Linked DNA regions of Homo sapiens: all the other regions are linked to region 3. The links are contacts of gene promoters, found by promoter capture Hi-C in blood cells and fetal thymus (Javierre and others, 2016). All regions are on one chromosome and are shown on one strand. The core of a region is centred on a gene start or on the middle of the fragment in contact, and the rest is flanking DNA. Distances in the headings are between cores, read along the strand shown. Region 1 has its middle 66 kb from the start of IGSF11-AS1. Region 2 holds the start of TEX55 (testis expressed 55). Region 3 holds the start of CFAP91 (cilia and flagella associated protein 91). Region 4 has its middle 40 kb from the start of NDUFB4. Region 5 has its middle 8.2 kb from the start of NDUFB4.

What was found. The method cuts DNA at HindIII sites, captures the fragments that hold promoters and counts their contacts. A CHiCAGO score of 5 or more calls a contact.
Region 1: a contact is called between a fragment that was not itself captured here and the fragment with the promoter of CFAP91 in region 3, in 1 of 17 cell types (total B cells). The highest score is 5.4, in total B cells.
Region 2: the fragment with the promoter of TEX55 here is called in contact with the fragment with the promoter of CFAP91 in region 3 in 9 of 17 cell types (fetal thymus, total CD4 T cells, naive B cells and 6 more); the score reaches 8.2 in fetal thymus.
Region 4: a contact is called between a fragment that was not itself captured here and the fragment with the promoter of CFAP91 in region 3, in 1 of 17 cell types (monocytes). The highest score is 5.2, in monocytes.
Region 5: a contact is called between a fragment that was not itself captured here and the fragment with the promoter of CFAP91 in region 3, in 1 of 17 cell types (neutrophils). The highest score is 5.9, in neutrophils.

What each region holds. Positions count from the first base shown.
Region 1 is chr3:118,875,524-118,878,223 of GRCh38, reverse strand. No RefSeq gene overlaps it. Among named protein-coding and RNA genes, the nearest start is that of IGSF11-AS1, 66 kb to the left of the region's middle. The HindIII fragment of the contact is 912 bases long and covers 839-1,750 here.
Region 2 is chr3:119,144,772-119,147,613 of GRCh38, reverse strand. TEX55 (testis expressed 55) reads right to left here and starts at 1,449. Exons shown (of 3, transcript NM_152539.3): 1 at 27-1,449. The coding sequence starts at 1,424. It also overlaps a transcript of IGSF11 not described here. RefSeq lists a silencer at 1,898-2,192. The HindIII fragment of the contact is 11,642 bases long and covers 1-2,842 here.
Region 3 is chr3:119,701,617-119,704,316 of GRCh38, reverse strand. It overlaps CFAP91 (cilia and flagella associated protein 91), which reads right to left and starts at 1,295. Exons shown (of 18, transcript NM_033364.4): 1 at 1,095-1,295. The coding sequence starts at 1,218. It overlaps LOC105374064 (a long non-coding RNA gene), which reads left to right and starts at 1,274. Exons shown (of 3, transcript XR_924391.4): 1 at 1,274-1,821. RefSeq lists enhancers at 977-1,036, 1,087-1,136, 1,130-1,809, 2,476-2,700 and a silencer at 1,247-1,416. The HindIII fragment of the contact is 3,012 bases long and covers 1-2,700 here.
Region 4 is chr3:120,555,369-120,558,197 of GRCh38, reverse strand. No RefSeq gene overlaps it. Among named protein-coding and RNA genes, the nearest start is that of NDUFB4, 40 kb to the left of the region's middle. The HindIII fragment of the contact is 764 bases long and covers 1,029-1,792 here.
Region 5 is chr3:120,603,186-120,605,947 of GRCh38, reverse strand. No RefSeq gene overlaps it. Among named protein-coding and RNA genes, the nearest start is that of NDUFB4, 8.2 kb to the right of the region's middle. The HindIII fragment of the contact is 1,783 bases long and covers 516-2,298 here.

The DNA.
Region 1 (2,700 bases), core at 45-2,544, 830 kb after region 3:
AGTTACTGAACAGCGCTCTAAGTGTGCTCCCTGTTGTTCTTTATCAATAGAAAAGTCAAACACCAAGATTACATGCCTCTACCTCGTAAATATGGGCACGATGGAACAATCCAGTTTCAACTGTACCCTATTTATAAAATGAGTCTCAAAAAGGTTCGCAGGTAAAAATAGAAGTAAGGATATCATGAAGTATGTCTTTGTCATTTCTCTGTCTAGATATCTGTCCAGGCTGAGTGTGTGGTGTTGAAGTCTCCAGCTATTACTGAATTAGGGCCTGTCTCTATTTTTAGCTCTAATATTTGCTTTATATATCTGGGTGCTCCAGTGTTGGGTGCATGTATATTTATAATTGTTATATCCTTTTGTTGAATTTACTGCTTTATCATTATATAGTGACCTTCTTTGTCTCTTTTTAAAGTTTTGTCTTGAAATATATCTTGTCTGATATAAGTATAGCTATTCCAGCTCTTTTTTTGTTTCTATTTGCATGGAATATCTTTTTCCATCCCTTTATTTTCAGTCTGTGTGTGTTTTTATAGATGAAGCGTATTTCTTATAGGCAACAGATCAATGGGTCTTGCTTTTTAATCCATTCAACCACTCTGTCTTTTGATTGGAGAGTGTACTCCACTTACATTCACTGTTACTACTAATAAGTGAGGACTTAACTCCTGCCATTTTGTTATTTTCTGGTTGTTTTGTGGTCTTCTTTCTTTCCTTCCTTCCTTCCTGTCTTCCTTTTAGTGTAGGTGGTTTTTCTCTGGTAGTATGCTTTAATTTCTTGCTTTTTATTTTTTTGTGTATCTGTTGTTTTAAATTTTATGGTTACCATGAAGCTTACAAATAATACAGAGTAGAATAATGGTTACCAGAGGCTGGGAAAGGTAGTGAGTGTGGTAGGTGGAGTGGAAATAGTTAACGGGTACAAAAATATAGTTAGAATGAATAAGATCTACTATTTGATAGCATAACAGGTGACTGTAGTCAATAATAATTTATTGTACATTTAAAATAACGAAAAGAGTATAATTGGGTTGTTTGTAATAGAAAGGATAAATGCTTGAGGTGATGGATACCCCATTTACCCTAATGTGATTATTATGCATTGTATACCTGTATCAAAATTTCTCATGTACCCCATAAATATATACACCAACTATATAGCTACAAAAATTGAAAATAAATAAATAAATAATAAAAAAAGATCCTCAGTTAGACCATTAATACAATGGTAGCTTAAAAAAAAATAGAACCCGAACAAACAAAAAACCTGCTTTCAGTATCCTGCAAGATCCTGAAATCCTCATCTGTGGACTTCACTTCAAATATGTCTTTCTCCCTACAGAATCTCTCTAAACTATTTCAGCTACCACCTTTTACCTTGGAGATTTGGCAGCTTGTTACATTTGCTTCTGAGCTTGTTGTTATGTTGACCCTCAACACTTGAGGGATTCTTTCCTGGCCTGACTTCCCTCTAATCTCAGACCTACACTCTAAAACTTGTGCTACAGCTGTGCCCTTGTCTAGTCCTTATGTTTGGGAATACCATGAGCTGAGGCAGGAATCAGTTATTCATAGCATAGAATGAGAGACGTAAGGACACCAGTCTCTAGAGTCACTGTAGTATTCTGTAGTTCATGTGAGCATGGCCTGAGAATTCAAGCTAGCAGCTCTAGGGGTTGTTGTTGCTGACAGCACACCCTTTGTGGCAAACCACATAGGAATTAATAGTGACTTCCACTCTGAAGCTTCTACCCTTTGCAGCAACAAGGCTGTTACTTCCCTGGAATTATAGGTTTGTACACTTAATCTGCTTAATTCCCATAGAGAACCAATGTGGTTTCTCACTGCCGTGCTGAGATCCTCTTTCCAACGCCTTTACAAAGATAGCATCCCCATTCCCAGACTTCTTTTCTCCTCGACCAGGCAGCCTGGTGAAAATGTGCAACAGTTCTAGAAAAGGGGCGTAGAAACACAGATTCCTTTTATTTATTCTAGACCGAAACTGGGGGCTCATAGTGACATCCAGTCACAATTTTATTTTGTCTTTTTTGGCTTACCAAAGGCTTAGCTTCTCTCGATTTATTTATAGAAATCCACATATCGAAGGAGAGAATAAGGGTAATTTTTATGTGATACAGGTCTTTGCAAGAATTTGCAGATGGTACATACTTTTGTCTCTCATGGAAGATATGCAGTTTTTCTTTTGGAAAGGGTACAGAAAGACCTGGCTACACCTTTCTAACAGATAACGATTACTTTCTATTTGTTCAATTTAGTCCCATCAGAACTCCTTATATGACAGTGCCAGGAGATCTAGGCCCCATTTAGGATATTTTTTGGAGAATGTCTTATACGGCATTTAACATAAGTGTGTTGTGACCTAATCCAGAGCTCTTTTACAGGAAATTCTCAGGCAATTAATTTCATTGTCCATGACTATAGTTGGTTCATTTTCTCCCTTTCAGCACTCTAAGAATTATGGCGATTTCTTATCAAAGAAATAGTTAATTTGAAATTTTACTTGGAAACAGCACACAACGAACATAAATTTCATATAGAGGCCCAAATGTCTTGTGTGGCCAACTGTGATGTTTTTTACCTTGTCCATGTAGCTGACGCCTTGGCAAATATTTCCTGGGCCTCCGTGAGGGGCATCATCTAAGTCATCTGGAATCTATTCTTTTCTCCAACTCTACT
Region 2 (2,842 bases), core at 200-2,699, 560 kb after region 3:
AGGTATCAAATGCCCATTTAACTTACAGATTTGGTTACTATGGCTTGAGTTTTTTCTTGACTGCTGGTATAGTTCAATTTGGATGAGATGGAGGGGAGTCTTGGGAAAAGAGCTTGGTCTTTTGCTTGGAAGTTACTGGTGAATCTGGCATCAACTGGGTTGTAGGGTGGGATAGTGGTTGCATTCTGAGTTTCCATTTCAACTGAAGGCTTGGAATTGAGGTCTACTTGGCTATCCTCAAATTTGCAGGGTTGTACTCTGTAGTCAGCCTCTTTGTCCTCTTTGCTGTTGCCTAACTGGGGAAATATTCTGTCTTCAGACTGGCCACGTGTTTCATAGTAAGACAGCTGGTCTTTATGATTAGCTTGTCTGTCTGCTAAGTGGTCAGTCTGGTCAGATTCAGTGTAGTGAGCATTGTCAACTGGAGGTTGATCAGCATTACTATGAGCTTGGTCAATAGCCTGGTGTTCAGCTAGTTCAGTGGCTTGGCCGTACACTTGGTGGTGAGTCTTTACAGATGTTTTGTGGTCAACGAGGCCATACAATCTGAGGTCAGTCTGCTCAGAAGTTCCTGGGTCAGCCAGGCCAGCCAATCTGTAGTCAGTCTTCTCAGAACTTCTTCTCCTAACTTTCCCTGACATTCTGCGGTCAATCTGTACGGAAGGTCTTTGGTCAGATGGTACGGACGATCCACTGTCAATCTGTACAGAAGGACTTTGGTCAGATGGGACGGATGACCCACTGTCAATCTGCACAGAAGGTCTTCTCTCAGATAGTTTGGATAATCTGTGTGTAATCTGCTCAGAAGTTCTTCGCTCAGCCTCGCCAGACATTCTGCGGTCCATCTGCTCGGAAGCTCTTCTCTCAGACTGGCCTGCCATTCTGTGGTCGGTCTGTCTGGAACCTCTCTGGTCAGATGGCATAGCCAGTCTACCATCAATCTGCCCAGAAGTTCTTCTCTCAGCCTGGGTAGGTAATCTTCGTTCAGTCTGTTCAGCAGTTCTTTCCTCCGTCAGGCCAGACACCTGACCATCACTCTGTTCATGCTGTACATTATTAGCTTGGCTAGATGCCTTGCCTTTAGTCTGTTCAGACGGTGTTTGATTAACCTGATCATCTGCTCTAAGGTCAGAAACATCAGCAGGGTTGGATGCTCTGCGGCCAGCCTGACCAGGTGTACTATGCCCATTTTGTTCAGCTACTCCGTTGGTAGCTTGGCTAAATATGCTGGATTCAGCCTGGCTAGGCACTCTTAGGGCAGTCTGGTCAGCTATTCTGTGAGCAGTGTGGTTATCTGCCTTCCTTTCGGCCTGGTTCTTCTGGTCGTCTTCTTCCTGGCCCTTAGTGTGGCCAGCACTTGAGGGAGCGGCTGGGCTTTCATGTTTCAAGGGTTCAGCCAGAGCCTCTTGCGGAGGCTCTTCCATTTCCTGCCGCGTCCCTGACTGGTCTAGGTTGCCAGGCACTGTGGGTGGGGTTGGGCTGGGTCGTCTAGGCGACCCTCCAGGAACGCCCCATGATTCCCACGGGCTTTGTTCGGGTCACTGCGTGCGTCAGGGAGAGTGGCCGTCCCGCTGTTGTAAGTGGAGGGACGGCAGTCAGCTGACCCTGCAGTGTGCAGGCGAGCGCAGGGAGTACGCCATGTCCTGAGAAGGGGCGATTCTCAGGCTCTGGCAGTTACAGCTTCTCCTCACCCTGCCGAGCAACCAGGCCACGGGGCTCCGTGCATCGCCACCTAGAGTGTTACCCTCTTCCTTGTTCACAGAGGTTCTCCGCAGTGTGTGAGAAAGAGGCCCTCTCTCAGGTACTGCTCCTCTGATTAACATCCCCCACCGCACCTCCAAATGTCAACAGATGAACACACAACCAGCTGCACGAGGACCACAAAACTGAACAGAGGTTGTTGCTATTGCCATCCCCTTTGGGTATAGCTGTCTTGGCAGTGGAAACTCCTGCCCCAAGGTGTTTTCTTGCTGGATTAGACATGTGATCTGTGGCGGGAGAGCCAGAGAGAGGAGAGAAGATCCAGTGAGAATGGGTTCTAAAACTGCACCATCTAGTGGTCTTACAGCAGAGAGGCGAGTTAGAAGGAGGCCAAATCAGAGTTCCAGAAAGGAAGGGAGTAAGGAAAGTGGGAGAAAGATACCAGAAGGAATATTTAGCAAGTGGAGAATTTGTATTTGATAGTGTTGGCCAGTGGGGCCCAGTTTTTGAGATTTGGTCCTCCCACTTTGCAATCAACCTTAAGAATGCACCTCAGAGTCAGTAGGCTGTCTACTTTCAGGAGTAGGCCAGTACAGAGGTGGTGATTGATGAGACAAATTACTTTGACCTTGCAAAGCCTGAAATCACTGAGGCAGGCCAAGGGTTGGTAGTGTGATGCCAGATATTCCTTTAGTAGGGATTTAACTGCATTAAACAATTAGAAATGAGACTTAAAATCCAAATTCAAATACTTGTGACAAAGGAGAGTGGATACACTTGACACCATACTTAGGAATGGAAAGGGGAATCTAAGCACACTGAAGTAAAGTCATTTATGTAACAGTGCCTAGAACATAATAGGTGCTCAAGAAGTGCTTGTTGAATGTCACTTTATGAATTATCTACCTTATTTATTTAAAAATGCATGACACCATTGGATACTGTGTTTAGAGTAAAATAGGTCTTGGGCTATGGCTTGTAGCTTCAAAGTGCTATTGGTTTTGGAGATTTATTTTTCCATTTTATAACTTAAATGTAATAATCATAGAAATATAAAAAAGAAAGCGTAAAGAAAAAAATTCCCAAACACTCAAGAGATAACCTGTATTGACATTTTGATGTTTATCCTTCTGGAAATACC
Region 3 (2,700 bases), core at 46-2,545:
TCTGTTCTTAGCAAGGGACATGGAAACATTTAGCAATTCCTCTGCAAAAGAGACACTTCGGCATCAAAGAAACAACCAGCTTAATAAATACTTTGGGGAGATGTTTGTCCTCCTTCTCAAATTACCCGTGAAAAAAAAACATGGTGATGTGTTTACAGGAGCTAACTTGATTTATTTCACAAAACCAAGAGTAAATACAGAAAAACACTGGCCAGAATATGTCAGCAATCATTACACAGCCTCTATCTAGGAATGTGTACCCTAGATTCCCACACAAAGGAGACTGGGATTCCCAGAGGCAACACCACATTGCTGAAAGCAATGCAAGGTTCAGGTGAAAAACCTGGGATTGCAGAGGGCAAAATTGGAAAAAATCATGCTTATAGCTGGTTACAGTTCTTGCCACGGCAAATTCAATAAACATTTATTTATTGAAGCGCCTAGTATATGTATCAGCACTAGAATAGGTGCTCAGAAGGCTACAAAAATGTGTAGAACAGGAACTTAAGGAACTCAAGGAGCGTGGAGAGAGAGAAAACATAAAATGGACAACCAAGCCGTTAAAATAAACTGGGGTTTTATTGGCCCAAGAGGAGCCAGCGGACCCAGTCTATAAGCAATGCTTTGACGCAGAAGTTAAAAAAAACAAACAACAACAACAACAAAAAACCTAAAAACAAGCATGGGATAAACTGGCACTTCTTTTCGCCCAACTTGGATTTGCCCAGAGAGTTGGAGAGAAAAGATCATTTTTGTAGGGCATTTTATGCAGGAACGTTGAGTGAATCTCCGAGTGTACAAATCGTTGCACACTTTCTGGGTACCAAAACGCCCGGAACAGGTTTCAGGAAAATCGCCCCCCGAAGCGGAGCGCACCCGCGCCTTTCGATGTACCCGAACCCCCGACCCCAACCTGAGTGCGGCCACCTGGAGGGCTCGGAGCTGCCCCCACCCGACCAAGGACAACCGTGGGCAAGAGGTCAGTCCAGAGGGTCGTGTTTCGTTCGCCATGCCCCTGGCCAGGTCCCACCATCTGGGAGCCCACCTGGCCTAGGAGGCGACGGACGCGGAGGAAGGTCTGCGGCGGTCCTTACCGTACAGAAAATCATACGCTCGATTGGAGGAGATGTGGCTCCCAGCCCGCGACCTCTCCCGGTACCGAGTTTGAGACACCTGCGGCTGGGCCTGGGGCTCCTCGATGGTTACTGCGTGGCTCATGGTGCCGCCTCTTTCCTCCCGCCAGCAAGGGACCAGCGGGTCAGGCCTGGCTACTGCGTGCACGTCGCTATGGTAACGGCCGCCGGCGCGCAGGGATAGGGGGCGGGGCAAGGAGGAGGGAGGAGGCCGCGGGGCGGGGCCGAAGAGGAGTGGAGAGAAGTGAAAGCAGGAGTGGCCAGGCCAGGGTCAGGAGGAGAGTGGAGGGGAAGATGAGAAGAGAGGGGAGGGGCAGGATGGGGGAGGAAAAGGCTGGCTTCCCTCTATACTCCAGAGCCAGCGGGGAGGCTGGGAGAAAGCTACTCTTAAGTCATTGATTTGCCAGTTACACCTCGTAGCCTCTCGGAAATCCCTGGGAGATCTCAGAACCTTCTAGAATAATTGGGTGCCTCCCCGCCCCTCCCCCCAGCCCTTTTCCAGGGGGCTTGTCCCGAGAGCTGCGGAATCCAGTCAGGTTCCTAAATGTTGCTCCTTAGCACGCTGTGAACTTTGCCCCACACTCATTAGCATCAGTGTTTAGGATGGGTTAGGACATCAGTAACTGTTGATCTGAGACTGCTGACCCTTTCTGAGTCCTGGGCATTAAATAACAGAAGATGATGTGGGGTAGGCACTGGCTCTGCTTTTGAAAACTATTTATAATGGAAAATTTTAAACATAAGCAAAAGTGATTCTACTTTTAATAACAAACCCTCAAGTAACCCATCCCTCAGAATCAACATTTAGCAACATTTTGCCAATCAAGTTTCAGTTTCCTTCCCCTCTTTTTTAAAGAAATCCTAGACATAATATTATTTTACCCTTAAATTAGTCTGCATCTCAAACTGACATAGATTTTAAAAATTTAACTACCGTTATCATATCTAACAAAATTAACAATAATTCCTTAGTACTATAAATAATTCCAATTTTCCTGTTTGAGTCCAAATTATCTTTTATAGTTGGTTTGTTCCAGTCAAGATCCAAAAAAAGTCCTCATGTTGCATTTTGGTATGTCTCTTAAGTCTTTTATCCTAGAGCAGTGAATTTCTAATCCTTTCAATAATTCTCTATTATTACCAGAGGTTCTTCTATAAAAGGAATCTTTTCATACCAACTCATTGGTTATCCTGAGATAACCAGGATAATCTCATAGAGGAAAGACTGGGTAAATGCTGGATTTGTTCTTTTTAATTATGAAATTTCAGAGACATGAGTTGGTGCCCTACCAAACTCCAGAGTTAACCACAAAGTTTTTGTTTGTTTGATATCATTATGAATGCATGCATTTTTTACAGATCTGATGTTTTAATCCGTTATGATCATTATTATTTATTACACTCAGATTATTAAAGCTAATGGCATGCCTTAGAGTTGGCTTCTTTGTCCTTTAATGTTGAGACGAGAAGTCTTCTTCCGATCAAAGGTTTTTCTCGATCGAAGGGTTCATGGTCTCACAGGCTTCAAGGAATGAAGCCGTGGACCACAGTGGCAAGTGTTACAGCT
Region 4 (2,829 bases), core at 161-2,660, 850 kb before region 3:
GATTCAGGTGCTCTGGTTGAGTCTGGTCCACTCTGCCACAGTATCTTTACTCACAGTGATTTTCTCTTGGGGACTTCATCACTGTCTTCCTCTCAAACTGACTTTTGCTTATAACACAGTTGGAAGAGAGAGTGAGAGAGACTGTGTGTGTGTGTGTGTGTGTGTGTGTGTGTGTGTACCCTTGGAAAATAGAGTTTAAATTTTATTTCTGGGGAATTGGGAATGTCACCAATCGTGGTGTTAAGGCACTAGAGCATGCCATGACAGTCAAAAGGCACCCCAGCAAATGATAGAAGGTGCTTCACCTGGAGCCCACAGAGGGCTCTGGGGCAGTGCTACTTATCAAGAGCCTATCTCAGTTCCAGCCCTAAATATTGCTACTATGGTGGTGGTGATGTACCCCCCTAATTTCTGCATTTCATGGTCCCTGTCTCCAAATCTATCTGGCTCTATTGGTTCAGATTCCTATCCCAATTCCTATTATGTTTCAGCTCCTAGTCCTGTGTGTCCCTGAGAGGAAGAGACTGATATCAGATCTGGTAGGACATGATACTCTTCAATCTTGTCACCATAACTTTCTCCTGGAGCCATGGAATGTAGCAGTGGTATGATCCGATCCCGCCTGTCCCTGTCCTGCCCAATACTTGATAGCTGTTCTTTCCTAGTTCCAGAACCTGATTGGACCAAGTTTAAGACCAAGGTAGGGAGTGGGAGGCAGATAGGCAATGCAATGCTATTCAACATTTAAGAATACTTCCCACTTACTTGTCCTTGTCAGGCCCTGGCCATACAGACAGGCTGTACAAGACATAGGCCCTGACCTCAGGGAGTAAATGTTTTTATTGAACTGACCCACTGTGTCTCTGAATGAGAACAAAAATGAAACTGCTGCAGAAAAACCCAGTGCTACAAAGTGCTAGCATCATCAGGAGGCAGGCTGCCTCTGCAGTGCAATCCATAATCTCTGTGACTTCCAGAACCAAAAAAAAAAAAAAAAAAAAAGTTAAATTACTTTCTAAAATTAAGCTTTGCATTACTTTGGAAACTAACAAAGCATTCCTTCCCACAGACACTGTTCCCAAATTAAGTATTTTGTGCTTATACAGCTGCTCAAATGTTGGTGCATTGAAGATGGAAAAATTTCTTAGGTAGGGAAGAGATGGGGTGCCTAGAAAGGAGAGGGGAGCTCTGTCGGGGGGAGAGCAGCTGTGGTCACTAGCAGAGATTATAGAATAGTTGGAAAAGATTATCAAGTAAATAAGTGTATAAAATGTTTCTAAAGTTATTAGGTCTAAATAAGTGTAGGTTAAGGGGGCCTGTTATGGTCAAGTATTTAAAAGCATCCTTTCAAGTGAAAACCTTGGTCAGTGGCTATTCCCCACCTGTAATCAATAGGAAATGGAATAAAAGTAAACTACCGAGGGGGCATCTTAAGGTCAATGTGAGGCCTATTGTTCAAGATTTCACAGCGATTAAACCCTAGAATGGGTCACAGAGAATAGGTGGGCACTTTCCTCTAGAGGCATTTATTGAAAGAACAGAACTGTCTTGTTATCACATGCTGCAGGTAACATCCAGTGTAGAGACAGAGGCATGACTTGGATGAGCTAACTTCCCAGGTTCTCTTCTATTAAATAGATTGGAAAGTCAAAGAACTCATACAGCATTAGAGGCCCCCCATAGCAGCTAGAGAGAAATGGACAGGTGAAAGGCCCATGGTCCTCACTTGTCCGCCTCCCACCGACAACATGCCAGGGCCTGCCATTGAGCTGCCTGTTTCATTTTGTAAGCTTGTGCCTAGATGTTTGCCTTGCAAACATGTGAGCTGTCTTGGCAAACGGTTTTGTAGAAAGCCCTCACTCACAAGAATTCCATCTGCAATATTTGGACTGGCTTCTAGGACTCCCTTTTCCGCACAAGCTGTTCCCTCCTTATCTCTGGGTCTCTTCCAGAAGGTCATCAATGTTCTGCTGTACAAGGGTCATCTGCTTGCCACACTATTCCCCAGCTCCTGGAACACAGCACTGTTTTCCATGGTGGCAGCAGCAGGAATATCTTCCTCCTCAGCATGATTTTCCAGGCCCAAGATAAGCTCACAAGCACCAAAAGACACAAGGCCATGGCCTCATGGACCTCACACCCAGTAGCCTGATCTGAGTTTAAAAAGGCAGACCTGCTGTCTTAGCTGGGGGAGTAGAGGAGAGTTAGTGGGAGGGGCTACTATGGGTTTAAGTTGACAGAGAGAGGTGGTGCAGGAGCAGAGAGCAGCCAGGAGCACCTGAGGAAGGCTGCGAAGGTCATCTGGGTGGGGGCGGGTTCCAGGGGAGGAGCACTTTCTGGCAGGGTGAGGTGGGGGCGGTCCTGGAGAATGTACCCATAAGGCCAAGTCCAAGGCCTGGGTGGGGTCTCTGACACTTGTAGACACTTGGCACCAAGCCTCAGTGTAATCTTGCTTCATCTCCCTGGATTTCTACCATCATTAATGACTGTGACTTCAGTCAGGGACTACAGAAAGGGAACACTCAGTGATAATCTAGAGGCAAGGACAATTGACCAAATAATCAGATATGGCTCCAGTTTAAGTCCTTTGCCCCATTATTACCCTGCCCTCTCTTCATTATCCTATATCCCAAGTCCTTACTTTCCCAGATGTGGTGGAGAAGGTAAAGAATTCCAAGTTGTTGTAAGCAGGGTCACTCCCCATAAAATGAGATCATCTCACACCCTAGGGACTGACTCAATTGAGCTCCACTGGCCAGAGTTCTGATTGCATCTCCCCAACCGAAAGAATATTAATTCCAGGCAAAGGAGGTCTCTGTCTCCTGCATA
Region 5 (2,762 bases), core at 158-2,657, 900 kb before region 3:
TTATGTTATGGGAATGTGGTCTCTCTCTCTCAGAACATCTTATTGTACTGTCTCACCTATTTTAGAACTGTGGTTGACTTCAGATAACTGAATAAGTGGGGACTACGGGGTAAACTAAAGTCATCTAGAAAAAAAGACGGAAGGTCACAGTAGGATTCCTTCTGTTTTTGCCCTCTAGCAAAATGAGAATCAAGTAATACAATTCTTTAAGATCTGGAGAACAATATAACAATAATGGCCATTAGGATGGGTGGAAGAAGCAGGGTCTTACCGTTATTGTAATGATATGGGCAGGGGCAAATTAGCAAACAGGAACCACATGGAAATCATATGATTTGGTCAAGTCTCATGGGCACAGGATGGTAGCTGTAGATCCAAAATAGTTTTAAGATCCATTTTGCAGGAATTCATGGATCTTTACTCCACCATTACACACAGCTACTCCCACGTGTCTACCACCTTGGCCCCTTTGAATTGCTGTTTCTCACACCTTCTAGTATTTCTGCCTTAAAGCTTCTGTTTACTCATAGATTAGATTCCTCATTACCTTAATGCACTAGTATAAGATCCAGAAAGTGGGAGATAATCTCTATAAAGGTTTAGGAGCTTCCCATATCAGTGATGTTTGTGGGTATCCAGTGGTCTTTGGCATGCCAGGATAGCCCCTCCAAAGTAAAGCACAAGTTGAACCACTTCACACCCTCTACTACAAAGAAAAAGGCACAGCACTTTGTGGGCCTCTGGATTCTGGAGACAACACATACCCTACTTGGGAACAGTACTCTGACCCATTTATGCAGTGATTTGTAAAGCTGCCAGTTTTGTTCTTCCAGAGAGAGGGTCACAGTTTGTCACCCAGGCTGAAGTGCAGTGGGTGGCATGATCATAGCTCCCTGCAACTTTGAACTCTTGGGCTCAAGAAATCCTCCCATCTCAGCCTTCCAATTAGTTAGGCACATACCAGGCATGCCTGGCTATAAGCTGCCAGTTTTGAATGGAGCCCAGAAAGGACTCTGCAGCAGATCCAGGCTGCAGTGTAAGCAGCAGCCACTTGGGTCATATAACACAATAAAGCCAATACTCTAGGTGTCTGTGGTAGGTAGCTAAGGATGCTGCTTGGAGTCTCCTACAAGACCTTGGCAACAGAATAGTTGCAGTGCTGACTTCTTAGGTTGTGGAGCAAGGCCATGCCTTCTGCAGCAAAGAAAAATTCACCATTCCAAAAGCAGCTGGGCACCCAGTATGAGATGAGGTGACCATTCAACCAGAACTGCCTATCAAGATCTGGACAGTCAGAAGCACTGTCATGTGATTGGATGTACACAGCAGCTCTAGGGCACAGATGAATTTAGCTAAGCCTACTAAAGGCTTAGCTAAAGTACCAGCTTAAGGACATCTAGCAGGACTGAGGCTCAGGGTTGACCATGTGGTATATGCAATGAACCAATGGTCATAGATACAGTGCTATGCCCCAGCAGCTAGAATTTATGACTCTGAGAACCAAGAAGTAGGATTGGCCCCTTTTGCCATCCCAGTAACTCATGGTGGAATGTGCACTTCCCCTCCCTCCAAATTTAGGTTCTGCTGGAAGAAGTCCTGATTCCCATGCTGGGGCATAAGAACACTTTCACCAGGGAAACAAAATAATCTGGTACTTCTTGTATTTGGGAAACAGTAGACCGAAAAAGAAATTTCCATACTGGCAGCAGTAAGTGACCCACGGAGCTAGGGTTGCTGCTACACAATGGGGCAAAAAGGGTAATGTCTGGAGTCCAGGGGATTCACTGGAGCATCTCGGTGCTTCCACTTCCAGCCCAGCTGTAAACATGCAATTGCTACAACAAAGGGCTGATGATGATAGAGTAACTAAGATTCTGGTCCTTAGAAATGAAGGCTTTGGTGACTTCATCTGGCTAGCAATCTAGACCTGCTAAAATGATGGCCAAGGAAGGGAAATCTAGTAAATACGATGAGGGGAGATGAATGAGTTACAGACTCTGGGCCAGTTGCAACAGTATGTACTGTAGCTGGTTCCACTAATTGTCCATACTGAGTGTTCTGTAGATTGTATACAGCCATCACCTTGAAGGACATGTTATAGACTGGACTCAGTGTATGTCCAAATAGATCCAAGCAGCGCATGAAGTGGAGGAAGAAATCCTATATCTCTTTTGCCTGCCTCACAACCTCTTGGTCCACCTTTTTACTCTAACTATTGCTGCCACTGTCAGCTGCCTGCAAGTGTGACCTGACAATACTTTACCTCAGCTGCACATCACTTGCTTTCTGCCCTAAGCTTCCTTTCTCCCGCATGTGTAATGCCTGTAAAAACATCGTCAGCCTTTCCAGAGTATGTCCATACCCTGATGTACACGAGAATTGCATGGGATAACCCTTGACCAATGGAGACAAGACAAACATTTGCTTTTCCCACATCTGGTTGAAAAATTCTACATTCCACAGGGCTTCTCAGAAGGTCCCAGGTGGGAGCCTGTTACTCTCAGAGGCAACAGGTTCATGGCACATGTTTGCTGGCTTTCCCTCCTTCCATGTTTCACTCTTCCCAAACTTCTATTCCTTCAGATCACTTCCTAATATAAACTACCTGCACAGAAGACTTTCCCTCAGTCTCTGCTTTCTGGGGCAACCCATGCTTATGCAAGCTTCAAATCAAAGTAGTCGTGGATATCCTTTGAAAGTTAAGACCAATATACCATCTACACCAGCCTTACAGAGCATGCTGGTTATCTACAGCACTTGAC